2 separate regions of the Homo sapiens genome follow, and region 1 is linked to region 2. The links are contacts of gene promoters, found by promoter capture Hi-C in blood cells and fetal thymus (Javierre and others, 2016). All regions are on one chromosome and are shown on one strand. Each heading gives the region's core, a stretch centred on a gene start or on the middle of the fragment in contact. The rest is flanking DNA. Distances are from core to core; before and after follow the strand shown. Region 1 overlaps HNRNPM (heterogeneous nuclear ribonucleoprotein M). Region 2 holds the start of NDUFA7 (NADH:ubiquinone oxidoreductase subunit A7).

The links. Contacts are between HindIII fragments. The CHiCAGO score rates a contact against its expected background, and 5 or more counts as called.
Region 1: a contact is called between a fragment that was not itself captured here and the fragment with the promoter of NDUFA7 in region 2, in 2 of 17 cell types (erythroblasts and naive CD4 T cells). The highest score is 6.1, in erythroblasts.

What each region holds. Positions count from the first base shown.
Region 1 is chr19:8,446,023-8,449,241 of GRCh38, forward strand. All of the region lies in intron 1 of HNRNPM (heterogeneous nuclear ribonucleoprotein M), which reads left to right. Among named protein-coding and RNA genes, the nearest start is that of HNRNPM, 2.7 kb to the left of the region's middle. The HindIII fragment of the contact is 1,865 bases long and covers 342-2,206 here.
Region 2 is chr19:8,319,303-8,322,676 of GRCh38, forward strand. It overlaps NDUFA7 (NADH:ubiquinone oxidoreductase subunit A7), which reads right to left and starts at 2,073. Exons shown (of 4, transcript NM_005001.5): 1 at 2,006-2,073; 2 at 1,555-1,604. The coding sequence starts at 2,056. RPS28 (ribosomal protein S28) reads left to right here and starts at 2,194. Exons shown (of 4, transcript NM_001031.5): 1 at 2,194-2,267; 2 at 2,354-2,401; 3 at 2,651-2,789; 4 at 2,970-3,374. The coding sequence starts at 2,229. The coding sequence ends at 2,773. It overlaps KANK3 (KN motif and ankyrin repeat domains 3), which reads right to left. Exons shown (of 11, transcript NM_198471.3): 11 at 3,282-3,374. RefSeq lists enhancers at 193-1,160, 1,161-2,128, 1,983-2,222, 2,129-3,096, 3,097-3,374. The HindIII fragment of the contact is 9,773 bases long and covers 1-3,211 here.

The sequences.
Region 1 (3,219 bases), core at 24-2,523, 130 kb after region 2:
CATTCATTCTGATTACAGACACTTAAGAGAGACAGAGAGGTTTTGGCTCCAAGATCAGCGGCCGGGAAGGAAGGGGAAGCCTGGGTACACATTGAATTTCCCAGACATTTATTTCATTGTGGTAAAATAGACATAACGTAGACTTTGCCATTTTAACCATTTTTTAAGCGTATAATTCAGTGGCATTGAGTATACTGACTCAGTGTGCTGTAACCGTCACTGCTTCATGTCCAGAACTTTTTCATCATCGGAAACAGAAAGTGTAGCTATTAAATACTAACTCCCTCCGTTTTCTTTCCTTTCTGTCTGTGACTTTGCCTTCCTCATATTGTAATGTGTGAAGCTTAGTTTATGGAGATTAAAAGTGAATGCGGTTGAGCACTTATATATTTAATTTTTTTCTTTGAGACAGGGTCTCCCTCTGTTACCCAAGCTGGGATGCAGTGGCACGATCACAGATCACTGCAGCCTCGAACTCCTGGGCTCAATCGATCCTTCCATCTCAGCCTCCTGAGTAGCTGGGATCACAGGCGCGGCACCACCATGCCCGGCTAATTTTTTGAAGAGAGGAGGTCTCCGGGTGTTGCCCAGGCTGGTCTGAAACTCCTGGGTTCAAGCCATCCTCCTGCCTAGGCCTTCCAAAGTGCTGAAGTTACAGGCATGAGCTACTGCGCCCTGCCTAGTTGAGCGCTTAGGTTAAGAACGTTCCCTAAGTGCTAGCTATATTGGTAGATAATAAATCCGGAGAAAATTCCAGATTCTTTCCCTCCTTAAGTAGGGAGAAATAAAATACCATGGTTACTGGCCCTTAGAAATGAGAAAAACTTCCTCTATTCCCAGCATTTTACTATTGAAAACTCTGGGAAGGAATGTGTTAATTTTGACTTTTTCAGCGTCTATCTACGGAAGCTGGTAGGATTTCTGAGGGTGGTATTTGGAGGGCTTTAAGATAAATTTATTTACCGTATGCAGGAAGGAGTGCTGGTAGAACCTTGCTAGATGATAGGGTAAATTAATAGATTACAAATTTTCCCTTTTCCCCTGTCCATTTTCAAATAGTCATTTTGTGACTGAGTCATTTTACAAATACATGTGGACTGTTGGAACCTGAAAATTGTAGAATAAAATAGCCGTTGTGAGAAAGAGGCTCAAAGTCTCAAAGTCTAGTACTAGCTTCATAGAGGATAGTTTAGGAAGCTGGCAACACTTGGATATTTTTGATAGGGCCTGTGGAAAACTTTTTTTTTTTTTTTTCATTACAAGTCTTAAGGAAATCTCTTTAGAAGCCTATACTTTTGCACTCCATGCAGAGTGGAGAGGCCATTAACATATTTGTATGTTATGTATGTTATGTAATTACCATAACATAAGGTAATTATGCTGTGATAGAAGTTAGTGGAGTTGCTTGGTAGAAAGAATGGAGGAGGTGACCTCCGCCACCTGCTGGGGGCAGGGACCTGTTCCTCCATGACAGGAAGACGTGTGGAAGTGGAGGAGAAGAAGATGGTTGGGGAGGGGCAGGGAAGAGAGTATCCAAAGAGCAGAGATTTGAGTGTATGCTTTATCGAGAACTGAAGTTGTGCTGGGTGTAGTGGCTCACACCTGTAATCCCAGCACTTTGGGAGGCTGAGGTGAGAGGACTATTTGAGCTCAGGAGTTCAAGACCAGCCTGGGCAACATGGTGAAACCCTGTCTCTACCAAAAAAAAGAAAAAACAAAACAGGCTGGGCCCGGCGGCTCACGCCTGTAATCTCAGCACTTTGGGAGGCCGAGGCGGGCAGATCACGAGGTCAGGAGATAGAGACCATCCTGGCTAACACGGTGAAACCCCGTCTCTACTAAAAATACAAAAAATTAGCCGGGCGTGGTGCCGGGCTCCTGTAGTCTCAGCCACTGGGGAGGCTGAGGCAGGAGAATGGCGTGAACCTGGGAGGCAGAGCTTGCAGTGAGCCGAGATTGGGCCACTGCACTCCAGCCTGGGCGACAGAGCGATACTCCTTCTTCAAACAAACAAACAAACAAGAACACTGAAGTTGCTATAGAGTTTTAAGGTTGGAGCACTGGCAGCCAGCTGATGGGCAGTGAATTTGGATTTTTATCTTGAAAGCCTTTGAGAGACAGGAGAAAAATAGAAACTTGGTTCTTTGGAATTCTTTCTCTACCAGGAGTGGAGTGTGCAGTAGACCACAAATGCAGTGAGCTAGCAAGCTTGATCTGGGAACCCAGGTTGGAAATCTTGTTTTGCAGTTACTTCTCTCCTGGGTGTGAGAATAGGATTTGCTTAATTTTGATGAGAAGTCTGTTCCAATTAAAGTCAGCAAAGATTCAGAGTTAGGGTATAGTCAGGGAAAAAAAAGTTCATTTTAGGGGAATGTATAGGTTTTTAAAATTTTTTTAAATGTAGTATCATATATAAAATAAATGACTTAACCTGCTCCCCTTCCTGAGTAATTTTTTTTTTTTTTTGAGATGGAGTCTCGCTCTGTTGCCCAGGCTGGAGTGCAGTGGCGCGATCTCAGCTCACTGCAAGCTCCGTGAACCGCTTCCCGGGTTCACGCCATTCTCCTGCCTCAGCCTCACGAGTAGCTGGGACTACAGGCGCCCGCCACCATGCCTGGCTAATTTTTTTAATATTTTTTTTTAGTAGAGATGGGGTTTCACTCTGTTAGCCAGGATGGTCTCGATCTCCTGACGTCGTTATCCGCCCGTCTTGGCCTCCCAAAGTGCTGGGATTATAGGCGTGAGCTACCACACCTGGCCCCTTCCTGAGTAATTTTGTGGGTGAATAAGAAACAGATGGATTGGTTATTTATAAAAATAAAAATATATATTTAGGGTAGATTCCTGAGGAGGTACTGTTAGAGTTGACTCCATTTGACAATCAAGAAAACTTTCGTTTTAAACACTTAAACCCAGGTTCAGGAACCTGACCTAAAGACTCCAGGGGAGGCCCTCCTGACTCCCAGGCAGCTTGCTGCTTTCATGATACTACCTTGGTAACCACTCAGTAAACAGCCGTTTGAATTGTTTTATTTAAATCAGATTCTCTATACAATGCATTTGAGTGTTTGCTGTACTTTAAAGAGTGATTGTTTATTCAAAAAGGATTTTGGAGACACGTCAGATTGTGAGCTCAAGATTAGAAGACAGGGTTTTGGATTATTTGAATGCATGCTGCCAGGCCTTTGCTTTCACTCAGCTCTTTGATTTTATTCTGGT
Region 2 (3,374 bases), core at 823-3,322:
GTAATCCCAGCACTTTGGGAGGCCGAGGCAGGCGGATTATGAAGTCAGGAGTTCGAGACCAGACTGGCCAACATGGTGAAACCCCGTTTCTACTAAAAATACAAAAAATTAGTCAGGCGTGGTGGCACATGCCTGTAATCCCAGCTACTTGGGAGGCTGAGGCAGGAGAATCGCTTGAACCCGGGAGATGGAGATTGCAGTGAGCTGAGATTGTGCCATTGCACTCCAGCCTGGGCAATAAGAGCAAAACTCCGTCTCAAAAAAAAAAAAAAAAAAAAGTTGAAAACAAAGTTTGATACTTCTAATATTTGGAATTAGTCACAACATATAGGCATTTACATAAATTTCATTATTTTAATGCTATTTTTCTTCCTTTCATTATAATCCTCAATGACTGCCTTACCTCTGCCTACCCTTTGACTTCATAGATTATACCATTATCCCTTTCCCTCAATGGGTTCCATCCATACTGGCCTCCTTCCACTCAGGCTCTGTCCAGCCTGACACTCTTAGCCCTTCCTGTTCCCTCTGCTCAGAATGTTTTTTCTTTTTTATTTTTTTGAGACAGAGTGTTGTTCTGTCACCCAGGCTGGAGTGCAGTGGTGCGATCTCAGCTCACTGCAATATCCACCTCCTGTGTTCAAGCGATTCTCCTGCCTCAACCTCCCGAGTAGCTGGGACTACCCGCGCGCGCCACCACGCCCGGCTAATTTTTGTATTTCTAGTAGAGAGGGGGTTTTACTGTGTTTCACTGTGTTGGCCAGGCTGGTCTCAAACTCCTGACCTCGTGATCCGCCTGCCTCAGCCTCCCCAAGTGCTGGGATCACAAGCGTGAGCCACCGCGCCCGGTCAGAATGTTTTTTCAATAATTATTCTTTGAATGGGTCCTTCCCATCATTCAGGGGACTCAACTGTCAATTTCCAAAGAAAGATCTTTCCCAATCATCTGACTTTACGTAGCCACCCTCCAGCTTCCACTTATTTTGTTTTGTCTTCAAAGCATTCCAGAACAATACTACCTGCTGTGTTTGTTTCCCTACTATGCTTCTCCCTAGAATGTGGCGTCCATGAAAGAATGTGGATAAGAACTTTCCTGGTTCACAAAGTTAAACCCAAGGCTGAGGTCATACATGACGGGGGCTTGTAAATATCAACTAATATTTTAATATAAATGAGTCTGAAATCAGGACACTTCTGGGTTCAAGTCCCCGCTGCCACTTTTTAGCTTCTGAGTGACTTGAGGCAAATGATTTCGCCTCTCTGGACCTCTTTTTTCATCTGTAGCTTGGGGATAACACTGACTAACATGGCCACGCTGAGCACTGCAAATCTAGCCTGATTGCCAGTCAGAATGCACGCCCGGCCTCGCTGTTTCAGGAGGGCTGTCCTCCGGAGTTCAGCAAGGTTAAAGGCAAACCTCTGCCTCCACAGCCTGGCAGGGGACTGGTGGCAGGATGTCAGCCCTCCGTTTCAGGGGTCTAAAGGAACACAGATTTCGTTTTTGGTGGAGAAAGGACAGAGCCAGAGGCTGGGCAGCGAGCGGGGCCTGCTCACCGCTTGGAGATCTCCTGGTAGCGTAGCTGCAGCTTCCCCTGCAGGTCATGCTGTGGGAAGAGGAGAGGAGAGGTCGGCCTGCAAGGCACCCCAGGAGAGAGGAAAGGAGAGGGCAAGGGACCAGGGATGGTCCGGGGATGCGCATTTTAAGGGAAGGCAGGGGATGAACACTCGGGGAAACGGATGTGGGTCCTGCAGGTGAAGAGCAAAGCCAGAGTCCGGGCCCACAGATCCAAGGCTAAGAAGGTCGGGGACTGGGGAAATCCCAGGCCTGAGTGGTTCCCAGGCCAGGAGAGGGTCCCGGGCTGAAGGGGTGACTAGCTGGGGGTTCCCAGGGAGATTCGGGGAGAGCGAAGGGTCCCGGCTTAGGAGGGAGGTGAGGAGCAGGAGCGGGTCCCGGACACACGGAGCCCGAAGCCCCCCATGGTGCAGCCCTGTCCGCCCCGCGCACCCCGGACGCCCAGTTCCGCAGCCGCTGGATGAGACGGGTGGCGGACGCCATCTTCCGTCCGCGATACTGAAGGGCGCAGCCGGTGACGTCTCCACCGCTGGGGCTGCTGGGAAAGACGCGGCGTGGTATCGCGAGACGGGAGTGGGCGGTGCTAGAACGTCCTATAAAGGCTCTCCCCGAAGCACGTGACTCCTCTCCGCCAGACCGCCGCCGCGCCGCCATCATGGACACCAGCCGTGTGCAGCCTATCAAGCTGGCCAGGGTGAGGTGGGGGCCCGAATTTGGGGGCAGGGGGAGGGATTAGAGGAGCCAAACGGGCCGGGTCTGAACCCAGCTTCTTTCCTCCAGGTCACCAAGGTCCTGGGCAGGACCGGTTCTCAGGGACAGTGCACGCAGGTAATCGGGTGGGGGCATTTGGCCGACTGCCGGCGACCTAAACCCTGATGTGACCTCTACCCTGCCCTAACCCCTGCCAGCCGGAATCCGGGAGCCGATTCTCATTTCATCACGGGGTTCTGATGGTTCCCTTTAACGATCTGTATTCTGGCCCCGACACGTTCTCTGAATTCATATCTGCTTCCCACTCCGCGGTGCCTTTCCGCGGCCCGCCCTTACTTCTTCCTCCACTCCGGTGGGGACCCGTAGGTGCGCGTGGAATTCATGGACGACACGAGCCGATCCATCATCCGCAATGTAAAAGGCCCCGTGCGCGAGGGCGACGTGCTCACCCTTTTGGAGTCAGAGCGAGAAGCCCGGAGGTTGCGCTGAGCTTGGCTGCTCGCTGGTGGGTGCAAAGAGGACACCCCTTTGATAGACCTTTGGTTGGTGGTAGGGAGGCTTCGTTAAGCCCAGGGTGAGAGGGTTTGGGAGGCAGAGTCTACATACAGAGACTGACAAGAGGGAGGCGGGAGTTTGCCAATTGCTGCGGGGCCTGTCAACATCTCATGTTTGGGTCTGTTTACAGGGTCTTGGATGTCGGGTTCGACCACTTGGCCGATGGGAATGGTCTGTCACAGTCTGCTCCTTTTTTTTGTCCGCCACACGTAACTGAGATGCTCCTTTAAATAAAGCGTTTGTGTTTCAAGTTAACTCAGGTTCTTGTCTGGGTTATACGACTAGGGTTTCTCCAGGTTTCTTGAGTGGCTCCCAGGCGGTCACCGATCCTCCGCACTCTGGAAATCCTGGCCGTGCGGTCTTGCCAAACGAAGCTTTTCCTTTTTGAGGCGGGGGGTCGTGTTTGTCGATTGCACCCTCTACCCCAAACAAAACACAAGCGTAGTAGGAATGTTTTATTAGCAAAGAAGTTTCAGAGAGTGGGTGGATCAGGGCTCTATCACTTGGTCCCCACCTCACCTTGGTGGGGCCAGAG